5 separate regions of the Homo sapiens genome follow, and regions 1, 2, 3 and 5 are each linked to region 4. Evidence: promoter capture Hi-C in 16 types of primary human blood cells and fetal thymus (Javierre and others, 2016). All regions are on one chromosome and are shown on one strand. The core of a region is centred on a gene start or on the middle of the fragment in contact, and the rest is flanking DNA. Distances in the headings are between cores, read along the strand shown. Region 1 holds the start of RNF13 (ring finger protein 13). Region 2 overlaps ANKUB1 (ankyrin repeat and ubiquitin domain containing 1). Region 3 overlaps ANKUB1 (ankyrin repeat and ubiquitin domain containing 1). Region 4 holds the start of HPS3 (HPS3 biogenesis of lysosomal organelles complex 2 subunit 1). Region 5 overlaps COMMD2 (COMM domain containing 2).

Region 1 (2,700 bases), core at 101-2,600, 680 kb before region 4:
GCTTATGTCAATGTACTAAATTGATTCTAAAATCTATTAATGAATCCTTATGGGCCCTGCACTACAGCACTGCACTACACTTCCTGCACTACAGCACTGCACTACACTTCTTACCTCCTGTTTAAAGTTCTTTTTAATTGCTATCACTGTCCAGTTTTGTTACTTCGAGATGGAGCTAATGTCCACCCATTAAAAAACTGTGCTTAAATAGCATAAACTCTTGAAAGCCCTACCTTAAATCTTGAATTGATCTGTTTCTCCAGAAGAACTCTTTGGAGGCACAGCCACCTTACTTATTTATATTGTATCAAAAACTGCAGATGTTCTCCTTGGAGAACAAACACATCATTGTTGAAAGGAATGCATCAGTTTTCACTGTTTCTGCTGCATCACTGACGAACAGTAATAGCCGGGCAGGTTTGGGGCAACAAGAGAGGACCCGAGCAGCTGCCCACGGTGCTGAAACTGATGATGAAACGACAGTTTTGGAAATTTACTATTTACTATTGTCAGATTAGGACAAAATAGAGGAATTTACCAGACACTGGCAGAGAAAACTGAGTGGCCGCCACCAAAGTTGCATGAGTGCTTCCGGGATACTGCTGTTTGGCTTCGATGTCTGCCCACTCTCTCTTTCTCTCTGGGACAAAGTTATTTAATAAGTGCAAGTCAAGTCAAGTCAAGCATACAGGCAGAGCTGCTGACTGACCGTAGTATCTGGCCCTAGCAGGGGTTAAGTCCCAAACCTGCAATCTGAGCTTCCAGGGAAAGAAAAAGGGGGTGGGGGTAAAAGAGAGGAAGTGACTGCCCTCCTTCTATTCAGAGACAAAACAGCCCCCTCAACTAAAGTCAAGCGATGTGCCCGAGGACGTTGCGGCAGGTACTTGACCAAGAAAAGCCTTCCAAACATGTTTTCCAGGCAGGCTCTTGCAGCCTCAAGAAGGGAATGAGAGAAGCAAAACCGGTAACTCAACTTTGGACACACACAAACTCGCGGAATGAGAGTGCAGGGGAGACTCGGTCCCCCGAGGGCAAGGCTATTTTATTCCTTTTGCAAAAAGCCTAATTGACTTCTCACCCAGCTCTAGAGGAGCAGCAAAGACCTCAGCAGCAGGGCCGACTCCGAGCTCGAGGGCCAACAAGCGGGGTATGTTCTCTGGGCCGCTCGATAACGAGCTGCCCGGCTGCCGCGAAGCCGGACAGGGTCTTACCTTGAAGTCCGGCCCCCGCAACACAAACAGTCTTGCCAGCCGCGTCGCTGCGGGAGAAGTCCCTACCCTGATTTCATGACTGAATATCCGCACCGACCCCCACAGCCCGGAGTACTAGCAGGGACGACAACACCTAGGCGAAGCGGAAGTCCCGCCCCACGCGCCTCATTGGTCCGCACCCAAAGGCACAGAAAACCCACTGGGCAACATGGTTGCCTGTTAAGGCTCTTTCCCACTCTCACGCGGAGTCTCGCTACTTGCTCTAGCCCGGCTCGGAGAAATGCCCAGTTTGCGAGTCTCGTTCTTGGCCGCGTGATCCGTCTTCCCTGGAAGGGAAGAGCAGGGTGGGGCAGGCGTCTGCGGAACTGGAGCGCGGCTGAAGAAGCTGCTCTTGGCAGAGGAAGGGGCAGGCTGGCAAAGTGGATTGGCTGTGGGCGCCTGCCGCTAACCATGTGCCCCTAGAAACGGAGACCGTAGGGTCTGGAGGGCGCGGGACCGAGCGGGCAGGGCCGGTCGGTCTGATCTGCTCCGGCTGTTGGGACAGAGTAGCCCAAGATTCGGCTGCCGGGCTGCCCCCGGGCGGGCCTGGCCCTGGCGCTGACGCGTCTCTTCCCTGCACACTACACTCACCCGACCTACTAAAGAGGCGAGGGCGAGGCCTCATCCGCCCGCCTTCCGTACCGTGCCCAGTCTGAGATCAGAGTGGGTGGGGACCGTGGCCACACCTTAAAGTAGGGCTCAAATTGTTAGAGATGCGAGCGGCCCGAGGTCTGAACGCCAGTCCCCTGAGGCCTGGCTCGGATCCACGCTGGCATCAGCACTCTGGGCCTGACACGCGCCATCCCCGGGGCTTAGCAAAAGTCAAACCATGTGATTCAGGCCCTAGGTCAGCCTTTTAAAACCCTTGCCTCCTTTTGATGAACCAAAAATCTCCTCCCCTGCCGCCCTTCTGATAAGCCTTCCTTTCTGGTTGTCTCAATCTTAAACCAGTCGAAACTTAAATTACCGGATTGTACCATCCACATTGATTAATCATTGCCAACTCGCCACCTTACAAAAGCAGTGTGACTTAGGCAAATATTACAGAGTCCTGAAAGAAATGTCAGGAGACATAGAATCAGGCACTACTTCTGCTTCAAATAATAAGGCACCCTTAATAAGGCCTTTACAGGCTTCAACTCCTTCAACATCATCTTTTAAAAATGGTGGCGAGGAGGCTATCACACAGAGTATTAGTAGAATACCATTGGATGTAACTTGTCACTTTGATTGCTTGGAGAGCCCTGAGTAGGTGGGACACAGCAATGGGGAAAAGACTCTTTCCTTATTGTGTATCCTTTTGTGCCTTTTGAATTTTGAACCTTGCAAATATTACCTACTCAAATAAAATTCAAATACAAGAAATTTAAGATCAAATTTTAAAAAATTAAATAAAAGCTATCAAAGGTACTTTCCTCTTCTGTGTATCCTATGAGTATTCTATGTAGTC
Region 2 (2,700 bases), core at 63-2,562, 650 kb before region 4:
TTGGGAGCACCCTGTCACATGTCCATGCTCTACTGCAAAGGGGGCAACTATCCAGCAGGTTGTGCTTTTCAGAGCGTGAAATGGGCTCAGCCTCCCTAGGACTCCTTCTGGTTTCCCTGCCTCCTTCTATAACCAGACTTGTACCAACCAAGTGCTGGGGTCAAAACATAGTTAATCCCTCCTGACATCCCTGGAATGTTGTGAAAAGTTGTTTTATGCTGAGAGATTGAGTTAACTGTAGTACCATTGAGTAGATGTTTATCAGATAAGTTAGAGAAGTTTGTACTATCTTGACAAGTCTAAATTTGATTCAAAATGATAAACATTTTAGCTTTCGAGAGGTACTGTTAATGTATAAACACCAAAATCCAATATATGTGGTTTTACATTTATGCATTTTTATACACAAAAACATGTATAAACATGTTTCTTTAAAATTTACACATGAAAGCATGTTTCTTAAAAATGGCCCTCTTTTCTAAGATGAGTCATAACAAAAGGTATGAAAAGAATCTGGTGAAGAAAGGTGTTCCAATTCAGTGTCCAAGACTCCATGGATAATCTCTCCAGAATGACTACCACACAAGAGGAGAAGTTTATGGAGACATCTCACTGGAATTCATTTGGTTCAACAAAAACAAATATTACTTCCCCTTTTGTTCACTCTGGAATAGTTCAGCAAGCTTCTGCTTACTTAGTGCTGTAACTCCAAAACAGCAAAATATAAAAAAGCAGAACTTGAGAAAAAATACAGCAGTACATTCAAAACTTTCATTAACTTGTTTTCTTTCAGTCAGTTCTGTTTAGCTTTTCCTTTCTTATTGTTAAAGTACATGTATGAATTTACAGTAAGTTTGCATTTGTTTTTTGAAGGTAAGCATGGAATTATTCTCATGAGATAGAACGTATTTGTTTTTATTGAAAAGTAAGATACTTTGTGTATATCTCTTGGGTTGGTTTGTTTGCATCTCAGTTTGTTTATAAAGGAAAAAGTCTAATTTTGTACATGTCCAACAATGATTTGTGTGTGGTATTATTATTTAATAGCGTCTGACTTCGTTGGTTGTGACTGACCAGCCTTCTGTGATTCAGAATACTTGGGGAGGAGTATCATATAGACAGAGAGGTAGAGATGCCTTCTCTTATGTGGATAAGGTGGATTAGCAAGTTGCTATTAATTGGCATCTACCTACTCCCTCGTCATACAACCAAATTAGAAAATATCGACAACTAATGTGCCTCACTAGAACTCAAAATGGGTTTTCCCATAAAAACAAGGTTTATACAAAGGTGAGTATGTAGAGTTAAAAAGTGCAATGAGAACTATTATCCAGATACATTATTGATTAAAAAGGCCTGGGATGTCATTCAACATTTATTATTTATTTATGTGATAAAAAGTTCCTGAGCGCTTAAAAAAAAAATGAACAGACTCAGTAGGTGTTAATTTTCTTGAGACTTAAGAACCTGGCTTCATTAATAATTAGTAATATTTTCTTCCTTGCACTTTTTATTTTCATCTAAAGATTGTCAGATCAGCTGGGCACAGAAGCTCACTCCTGTAATCCCAATACTTTGGGAGGCTGAGGTGGATGGATTGCTTGAGGCCAGGGGGTCCAGACCAGCCTGGACAACATAGCTAGGCCCTGTCTCTACAAATAAGAATTTAAAATGTAGCTGGGTTTGGTGGTGAGTGCCTGTACTTGGGAGGCTGAGGTGGGAGGATTGCTTGAGTCTAGGAGTTTGAGGTTACTGTGAGCTCTGATAGTGCCACTGTACTTCAGCCTGGGCAACAGAGTGAGACCCTATCTCAAAAAAATTGCCAGATATTTTGCAGTTCTCCCTTATTACTTGTTCCAGAGTCAGTTATATGTATACTAAGTTATACATGCTTATCTTTATAGATATAAGTATACGATTATTCATATTCTGAGAAGCTTCTTTTTAACTTATCTAACCTCACACACCTAGTTAACTTAAGAGTGACTTGAGAGCTGGGAATGGAGGAGAATTCTTTCCCCAGCTACTCAGGAGGTGGGAGACTGCTTGAGCCCAGAAGTTCAAGACCAGCCTGGGCAACATAGTGAGCCCTAGACTCTAAAAAAAAATTTTTTTTTTAAAGAGTGACTTGGGACTCTGTTATTTTGTTTGCATGTTATTCTATTTGGATTTATTTTGTCATTTGTTTGCATTTAATTTGTTATTTGCATTTAATTCTAAATATAAATTAGGAATTTTTAAAGAAATAAAAAAGAGCTATTACATAAAATATAATTTTTCTCTCTTTCCCACTATCTTTTTATTCAGTTTTCATAGGAATTTCTGCCTGCCCGTAAATATTATCTACATTAGCTTGAACAGATACTTCCCTTATGGAACCATAGGAAAGCACGGCGTGGCAAAAGTGAAAGAGTCAATCCTATGTCCTTTAAATTTGTATTGCATGTGTTTATGAGAAACTATCATGAAAAATTGTTCTAAGCACTTTAGGCTCAGTGGGCAGCTCAGCTTGCTGATCTGGCTTCATGCACAGCCACAGAGGGACTGAAACTGTTCCTAATCACTTCAGTCACTGAAATGGGCCCTAGATCAAAGTACTGCAGCCTTAAATTTCATCAGTAACATCACTCCTCAAAGGCTTTTTGAAAAAGGTCTGCATGTTGACCATATTACTGCAATGTGTTATGTGGGAGAGGAGCA
Region 3 (2,700 bases), core at 194-2,693, 630 kb before region 4:
CAGTGCAGCTCTTGTACCACAAAGACACAAACATGAGGAATGGATGGACGCTATCTTGATGGCTACATGCACCATCACCAAGCTAGTGTCATAGCCAGGAAATGGGGAAGAACCTAATGTAATCCTTCATGATGCTGACCCAGGGATCAGGTGGGTAAAGTGACCATCAGATGTTCCTGTTTTACAGAAAGGGGAGTCTCCCAAAGCAGACAAGTCATCTGGCATCATGTGAAAGTACTTGTTGGACCACATGTCATTCAGGAACTCCTACCTTTAGATTCATAAAACTAAACCTCTCAGGGTTGACTCCAAGATGGCATTATGCAGTTAACACAGATCAAGCGCTAATGTGGGTTTGGGTTGGTGAGTAAATGTGGCTGGTGTAGACAGTCACTGAGGCCAGAAGGTCACATAGAGTCTCATTCCTCAGCCTAGACGTCAGTAGGCTTTACACAGGTCAAAGAATATCTGTAAGGTGTGTCTAGAAAATAGCTTTCCTTATTGCTCATTGTCCAATTCCAGAGAGGTTTATGTGACCTGGGAGTCCAGTTAAGTAAAGATTCAAATGTAAGGGATTGATCCAGAAGGCTGAGAGTTTGAGTGGACTGAGAATAGATGATAATCTCAAATGTTATGAGCTTTGCTGGGCTCTTGTACTCTGGATACAAGTACAGCTCTTTGTTTTTATTCTTTATTTAAAAAGGCATATCTTGTATGTTTTAATCACCTTTTGTATCTCCAGCACATAGAATAGTGCTTGCCATAGAGTAAGTGCTCAATACGCATCTTTTTCTTAAGGTAAACAGTTTTTGAATGAATGCAGAAAAGCCAGGTTTCAAATGCCAGGGAGAGAATCAGGATAGGCTCTGAGCCTAGGAAGAGCAAGGATATGCATCAGAACAGGAGAGGACTTCAAACTAAGTCTGGTGGGATACAGGGAAAGGCTGAAAGTGCCTGAATGATTTCTTTAAGACTTAACACCTAATTTTATGGGCTGCATGGATGGGTTAACTCAGTTTAGAGGGCACAGAAAGACACAGCCATTGAGGTAAAGCAAGAAGTTAATCTAGAACAAAGAAGTTGAATCAGGCAGACATAGACCTGGTTCAAATGTTGGAAACACTATGGTACTTTTATACAGGGTTACTCCTAATAGATTGAGTGAAAGCCTTTTAGAAATACCAGACTTTGCCAGACAACATGGGCAGAGGTGAGGTAAAGGATCCAGGCAGAGCTAGTAACATGGTCAAAGGCACTTTTGTGAAAGAGCAAGCAAGAAATTGAATTTTCAGGAAGGTACGTGGATTTGCAAAAGTCATCCTAGGCAATAAGGAAGAACTGGCTGGAGATAAGACTGGCAAAGTAGACTGCATCTACACTAAGAAGCATCTTGTGTGACCAAGTGAAGAGTTTGCTTCTTATTCCCCCTTCCATGGGGTAGGAGGTAGGTGGGAAGCTCATAGAAGTTCTTTTTCATGAAGTAAGTTCCATAATCAGTTTTTGTTTGTTTTTGAAGACAAATCTGATAGAGATGTATGGAAGACTCGTTGGAAAGATGTGGAAAGACTATAGTAAAGGTAGGAAGCTGCAAAAAGAGAAATAAGAGAAAATAAAGACCTGGACTAGAACAACAGTAGTTAGGGAAAAGAGAAAAGGCCAAATACAAGAGATATTTCTGGGGAATAATCCACAAAATTTGGTCACTGACTGGGTGTGGAAATAGAGAAAGAAGGAATTTAGTTTCGTTTCTAGCTTTGGAGATGGTGAGGATAGCAAAATCGAAGTGTTAGAACAAGGAAACAGAAGTGGGACAAGTTTAGGAAGAAGATAAAGATATGTTAAATTAGAAGTGTCTATGGGATGAATATTTTTATTTGTTAATTGGAGATATGCCACTTTTGAGAAAGGTCAAGGAGTCATGGATAAAAGAATTTAAACAGTGAGTAAATGAGGACTCCTAGGATGAGGGTGTAGAAAGAGAGGAGGACCAAAGATAGAATCTTGGAGGACCCCAACATTTAAGGTGATGTAAAACACCTCTGTATTAAATCACATTTGCATCCTACAAAGAGTAATCGTATTCAAATTTGCAAGTCTTTATTAGTATATAGCCAGAGAATAACTATCATAAAACATTAAGTTCCTTTGCATTTTAGTTAAAGACTATCAAAATACCTAATATCTTTTCAATTAAAAAATCCTCATGTGTGTTCGTAGGGGTAGAAAGTGGAGAAAAGAGGAGGCCAGGGAATATGTGATGTATAGGAATATCTAGAGAGGAGAGAGAAAAAGTTTCAACCCAGAGAATTCTACATGATATTGAGTGGCTTTCTGTTTCTAGTTGTGGATTCTAAGTTTTTAGTATTGCCTTGAGAAAATATCATTCCCACTGCATCACAGGGAACTTGTTTTAGAAAGATTACTGTTTCTATTTCACATCTACCTATGTGACAAGACAAACTAGCCCTAGCTACAAAATCAACCTGAAGATTTCCATCCTTTTTCAGCTATGTATGCAGACAAGATCAGACCTCCTTACAAATTATATCTTGTTTTCTTGCAGTGCCTTTAAAGAGAAACGATGGCTTCAGCAGTTAGAAATAGCAAGAGTCCTGGCCAAAAAGAGCATTTCTAACTTGACTACCCGAGGAGGTCTGACAGCGTGTGAAAACTCTCTAGAAACTGTGCTTTGAAAAGTCA
Region 4 (2,700 bases), core at 21-2,520:
CTGTAATCTAAAAGGGATCTAGTTTTAAATGTTGGATTTTTCTAAAATAGGATTCACCCACACAGTATTTCCTTGGTATTGCTTCACATTTCTGGTGTGAAAGAGTAACGGCTGCTCTTACAACTGTTTGTTTTTGTTTGTTTTGGGACGGAGTCTCACTCTGTCGCCTAAACTGGAGTGCAATGGGGCAATCTCCGCCTCCCCGGTTCAAGCGATTCTCCTGCCTCAGCCTCCCAAGTAGCTGAGACTACAGGCGCCCACCACCACGTCCGGCTAATTTTTGTATTTTTAGTACAGACGGGGTTTCAATAAATTGACCAGGCTGGTCTCGAACTCCTAACATCGTGATCCGCCTGCCTCAGCCTCCCAAAGTGTTGGGATTACAGGCGTGAGCCACTGCGCCCGGCCACAGATGTTTAAGAGAAGAGAGGGGGGCAGTCTGAGTTCTACTTACACACATTTAAAAATCAACACATAATGTGAGCTTTCAAAAACCGACCGGAAGTAGATGGAGGTACAGATGTGAAAGAACTGCCAAGAGTTGGAATAATTGTTAAAGCTGGGAGTACTTGGAGGTTCCGGGATACAGTACTAGTCTCCTTATTCCTACTTGTTTTTTTGGTAAGTCTTTGAAATCTGATGCACTAAAGAGTTTTTTGTTGTTGTTTGCTTAAGTATCCGAGATGAGTGGAATCCAGCCAGAGGCCTTTCTGCAGAAAACCAAGACGAAGAGATGTCAGCGTCTCCGCCCCGACAGAAGCAAGCTCATACCTATGCTTGCCGCGACAACCGCATAGCTCAATGCGACTTCAAGCAATCAGCGGCCAGACCCAGGGAGACCATCCGGCAAATTCCGGGAAGCAAGAAGTCCCATCCCTAGCTAGAGCTACAGCCCAGACGTTCGGTCCGCTAGCTAGGAGGCCTCAAGCTGGACCCCAGGCGGCCCCTGGCTCTCTAGATTACTCACCAGCCTCGCTGTAGGCCAGGCGCAACACCCGGCCCAGCGTGGAGAAGGCGCACCGCGGCTGGCACAGCTCCTGGCCGGCCACCGCGAACGCCTCCACCTTGCAGCCCGCCGCCACGAAAAGCGCGTCACGCCCCCCGCCACAGAACCGGTCCGGCTCCAGCTTGCAGGGCACCACCTGCTGCGACCCGAACGGGTGCAGGTTGTACAGCTGCACCATCCCGACGTCCGGCGGGATGGCACAGCCTGCCCGCCCTGCAGGGCGCCCGGAGACCCCGCGCTGACCGCGAATGTAGGACTACTTCCGCGAGCGAGCCAATGACGCCGGGTCACGTGAACGCCAGCCGGCCCCGCCCGCGGCTCCGCTACTTAAAGAGGCCGCCGCGGGGCGTGGCAGGCGTCGGGAAAGCGGTCACGCCAGCCTGGTCAGCCCGCGCTCTGGCGCTGCAGTGCTTTCGGTCTCTGCGCCTCCCACTCCGCCGCGCGAGCTTGCCACTGCTCTATGCTCAGTGGCCGGTGGGTGCGGGGACCGCTGGGTCCCTGCCTTTCGTCTTTTACTGCTTTGGGCCAGGCGGTATGTTTTGGCTTTTGAGTACGTTCTGACAATTCATCATCTATCTTGTAACATTTTGTACTTACTTTGAGGAGCGTTATTCATGTCTCTTCAGTAGTCCCTGAGCTTCTGGAGGATGGGGTTGCAAAAACTGAAATGGGGTGCAACTCGGGGCTAAACACTCTGAAGAGTTGCTTTAAAATAATGGAAATTCTAGAATAGTTCAGCTGGAAAGAGCAAAGCCTTGAACGTGCTTGGCAAAAAGATATTTGTTGAAAGAAAGAATCCATGGACTTCATCTTGTAGGCATTTGACAAAAGACTAGTTTGAGCCCCAGAGGATAGAAGAACTAGGAGGGAAATCCCCTGGCTTTCAGTCCAGTGCTCCTAAAACTATGCAGTAAATTATCTATTCCTGACATCTCAACGTGGAGTTCACGATCGCAACACTTTCCCTTTTCTAAAAAAATCAGATTTAGATAAAACAAGTAGTATAACTTTGTCCAGTTCACCTAGAAAATATATGTGTTAGCATGGATTGAGGGATGCTGTTTTATTTAGGCACACAGGGACATAAATGAAAGTGCAACATTTTCTTCAGTCAGTTTCCAGTTCAGAATTTGTAAATTAGATGCAATTGGATTGAAGTTAAACTTGCCTCCCTTTCCTAGGCCCTTCAGATGAATAAAGTACCTCTAAGTAATGGGAAACAACAGGTTCGTCAAACTCAGTGAGTTAGAGAAGTAAACATGGAGGTAGCTCAGGTCAGGAACTAGGGCTGCAAAAAATCACAGAAGGCTCCTATGGAAAACAACCAGACTAATAGTCCACAAGTTATTTGTTCTAGATACAAAACTTAAGAGCAAATATCAAAATCAATAGTAAAAAAGATTCCTTTCCACAAGTATCTGCCATATTATTCTTTTTGGCTTAATTTTCTTCTTCAAGACTTAATTATCCTAATTCAATTTTCTCCTAATGAAGACTGATATTAACTTTAGTGTAATTTCACCTGCATAAAAAGAATGTCTGTTTTGGAGAAAGAAGTGAGATTTGCTCAAAACCTGGAACCCCATTCCTTCCTAGAGATAGTGTCTTCTTCCTTGCTGTAGTCACTGCACCTGACTCATCTAAGATTCTTTGGGAAGAGACATGCTACCCAAGGGAAGGTGGGGCATGTGTCT
Region 5 (2,700 bases), core at 169-2,668, 610 kb before region 4:
TCTCTCTGTCAGTGTAGAGGAAAAACAAATATAAACAGAGCATAATTGAATAAATAAGTACTGTTTTCAATTATCATATATATAATTTGCATATGTGTCATCTATAGTTATTTGTACTACAGAGATGATCTTAAACTGGTACTTTAGCCTGCAAGTACCTATTTTATGTTTGGGGACCAGCTCACCCAAAGGGATTGACTTATTGTTTGCAAATTAGTTGGGGACATTAAATTTCAGCCTTGGATCAGTATCTTGGGTTCTTTTGGAAGCCCAGGTTACCTATAATTATTTGGAAGAAGTTATTAGTCAGAATATTCTATTTTACAGAATTAAATTAATCCTGAAATCTCAGGTTTAGATTTGTTACTCACTTGAAAATCCCTTCAAGTTGGAATCTAGTCTTCTTGACATGACTCCACTATTTTTGATAACTTTTTTGCTTTCTCCTATAACAAGATGTTTCAGGCTCATCTTGTACAGTTTCTCTCCTAGACTTCAAGTCAGCTATTGCTTTGGATAGTCCTGGTTCCTTTTAATGGAGAATCTAAAGATTGAAAGGACCTTGAAGTTGGTCATTGTTTATAGTTTTGTGTTTTCTTCTTTTAAAAATATGTCAGTATTACTTATTTTTTAAATTTTGGAACATATTATACAAATGAAAGGTTATAGATACCCAGTTTAAAGAATAATGATAAAACAAATACCAGTACACCCACCACCAAGCTTAACAAATAAAACCAGTACTTTTGAAGAACCTGTACCCAATTGTAACCATCTCCCAGCCACCTGAAGGAAACCGTTATCCTGAATTTTCTGTGAATCTTTTCTTTTTCTTTTTCTTTTTCTTTTTTTTTTTTTTTTGAGATAGAGTCTCACTCTGTTGCCCAGGCTGGAGTGCAATGGCACGATCTTGGCTCACCACAACTTCTGCCTCCCAGGTTCAAGCAGTTTTCCTGCCTCAGCCTCCCAAGTAGCTGGGACTACAGGCGCGTGCCACCATGCCAGCTAATTTTTGTATTTTTAGTAGAGACAGGGTTTCACTATGTTGGCCGGGCTGGTCTCAAGCTCCTGACCTTGTGATCCACCCATCTCAGCCCCCAAAAGTGCTGAGATTACAGGCGTGAGCCACCGTGCCTAGCCCCTAATCTTTTCTTTATAGTTTTTTTAAACATAAATTTTGTCACCAAACTGTATATTTTTTAAACTTGAACATATTCTGTGACTTGCTTTTTTTCAACATTTTCATTTCTTCTATGATAACCCATGTTGCTGTAGTTCATTTCTTTTCTCTGCCATTTAGTAAGCAATTCATTGTGTGATTATTCTTGGTTTATCTATTCTGTTAATGAATATTTGATGTATTTCTAATTTTTGGTTCTTGGAAACATACTATCATGAATAAATGTATATAAGAGGTTAAGGTATATGCCTAGTGGTGGAGTTGCTGGTAATGCACATTGTTTTCCAAAGTGATTTTCTCATCGCTTACCAGGAGTGGGTGAGAGTTCCCATTACTGCCACTTGCAATGCTTGGTATGAACAGGTTTTTAATTTTTGCTAGTCTGATATTTGTAAAATGGTATTTCATGTAGTTTTACTGGCTATTATCCTGATGTTTAATAAAGTTGAACATATTTTTCTATATTCATTTGTCTTCTGTAAAATGCTTATTTAGACCTTCTGTATATTTTTATCTTGGGTTTTGAGGTTTTTTTCTTATTAAATCAGAGGAGTTCACACATTCTGGATACTAATCTTTTTTTGGTTATATGTCTGTTGCAAAATCCCTTCTCTCGGTTTATGACTTGTTTTTTCACCATCTTTAGGTATCCTTTGAAGAAAATTGAGTTTTAATGTAGTTAAATTTTACCAGTTTTGTCTTTATGGTTTGAGCCTTTTATATCATGTTTAAGAAATCTTCTATACCATAAAATTGGTATATATTCTCATTATTTTCTTTTCAAAGGTTTTAAAGTTTACTTTTCATTTTGAAGTCTGTAATTCATCTGAAACTTAATTTTTGTGTATGGTTTAAGATAATTATAAATATTATGTATTCAGCATGGTTATTAAATAGTTACTGTGCTCTTATTTCATTTAAAATCAAGCTTGCAAGTAGAAGTCTCAGGCAACAGATTAAACCAGCAGTGACTATAAAGCTACACCTTAATCAAAATGGAGATCACAACACCAAAGTTCTGCAGACAGACCCAGCCACCCTGCTCCATTTGGTTCAACAACTGGAACAAGCATTGGAAGAGATGAAGACAAATCACTGTAGGAGAGTTGTTCGCAACATCAAGTAGTACCAGTTTTAAGGTTTTAATTCATTTGAATCACTTATGAATTGATGATATACAGCAATTACTTTTCAAAATTAATTTTTTATTAATTCATGATGATAAATACATAGTATTCCTCAGTATCTATTCCAAGATACTGAGGTCATAATCAGAAGCTAAGCTGGGTGCAGTGGCTCATGCCAGTTATCCCAGCACTTTGGGAGGCCGAGGTGGGCAAATCATGAGGTCAGGAGATTGAGACCTTCCTGGCTAACATGGTGAAACCCCATCTCTACTAAAAATATAAAAAATTAGCCAGGTGTGGTGGCACGCATCTATCAGAGTCCCAGCTACTCAGGAGGCTGAGGCAGGAGAATCGCTTGAACCTGGGAGGTGGAGGTTGCAGTGAGCTGAGATT

The links. Contacts are between HindIII fragments. The CHiCAGO score rates a contact against its expected background, and 5 or more counts as called.
Region 1: a contact is called between the fragment with the promoter of RNF13 here and the fragment with the promoter of HPS3 in region 4, in 7 of 17 cell types (naive CD8 T cells, naive CD4 T cells, non-activated CD4 T cells and 4 more). The highest score is 14.0, in naive CD8 T cells.
Region 2: a fragment that was not itself captured here is called in contact with the fragment with the promoter of HPS3 in region 4 in 3 of 17 cell types (naive CD8 T cells, total B cells and total CD4 T cells); the score reaches 5.7 in naive CD8 T cells.
Region 3: a contact is called between a fragment that was not itself captured here and the fragment with the promoter of HPS3 in region 4, in 1 of 17 cell types (total CD4 T cells). The highest score is 5.7, in total CD4 T cells.
Region 5: a fragment that was not itself captured here is called in contact with the fragment with the promoter of HPS3 in region 4 in 4 of 17 cell types (non-activated CD4 T cells, total CD4 T cells, total B cells and 1 more); the score reaches 6.3 in non-activated CD4 T cells.

What each region holds. Positions count from the first base shown.
Region 1 is chr3:149,811,865-149,814,564 of GRCh38, reverse strand. It overlaps RNF13 (ring finger protein 13), which reads right to left and starts at 1,350. Exons shown (of 10, transcript NM_183381.3): 1 at 1,212-1,350. RefSeq lists enhancers at 1,507-1,616, 1,482-1,993 and a silencer at 1,827-1,976. The HindIII fragment of the contact is 6,716 bases long and covers 4-2,700 here.
Region 2 is chr3:149,781,677-149,784,376 of GRCh38, reverse strand. The region is part of intron 2 of ANKUB1 (ankyrin repeat and ubiquitin domain containing 1); the gene reads left to right. Among named protein-coding and RNA genes, the nearest start is that of ANKUB1, 9.5 kb to the left of the region's middle. The HindIII fragment of the contact is 1,254 bases long and covers 686-1,939 here.
Region 3 is chr3:149,761,477-149,764,176 of GRCh38, reverse strand. ANKUB1 (ankyrin repeat and ubiquitin domain containing 1) reads left to right here. Exons shown (of 6, transcript NM_001144960.3): 6 at 2,564-2,700. The coding sequence ends at 2,693. Among named protein-coding and RNA genes, the nearest start is that of COMMD2, 10 kb to the right of the region's middle. The HindIII fragment of the contact is 8,772 bases long and covers 1-2,700 here.
Region 4 is chr3:149,128,208-149,130,907 of GRCh38, reverse strand. It overlaps HPS3 (HPS3 biogenesis of lysosomal organelles complex 2 subunit 1), which reads right to left and starts at 1,270. Exons shown (of 17, transcript NM_032383.5): 1 at 968-1,270. The coding sequence starts at 1,184. RefSeq lists enhancers at 729-1,228, 1,010-1,269. The HindIII fragment of the contact is 10,979 bases long and covers 1-2,700 here.
Region 5 is chr3:149,741,127-149,743,826 of GRCh38, reverse strand. COMMD2 (COMM domain containing 2) reads left to right here. Exons shown (of 5, transcript NM_016094.4): 5 at 2,109-2,700. The coding sequence ends at 2,306. Among named protein-coding and RNA genes, the nearest start is that of COMMD2, 10 kb to the left of the region's middle. The HindIII fragment of the contact is 1,385 bases long and covers 726-2,110 here.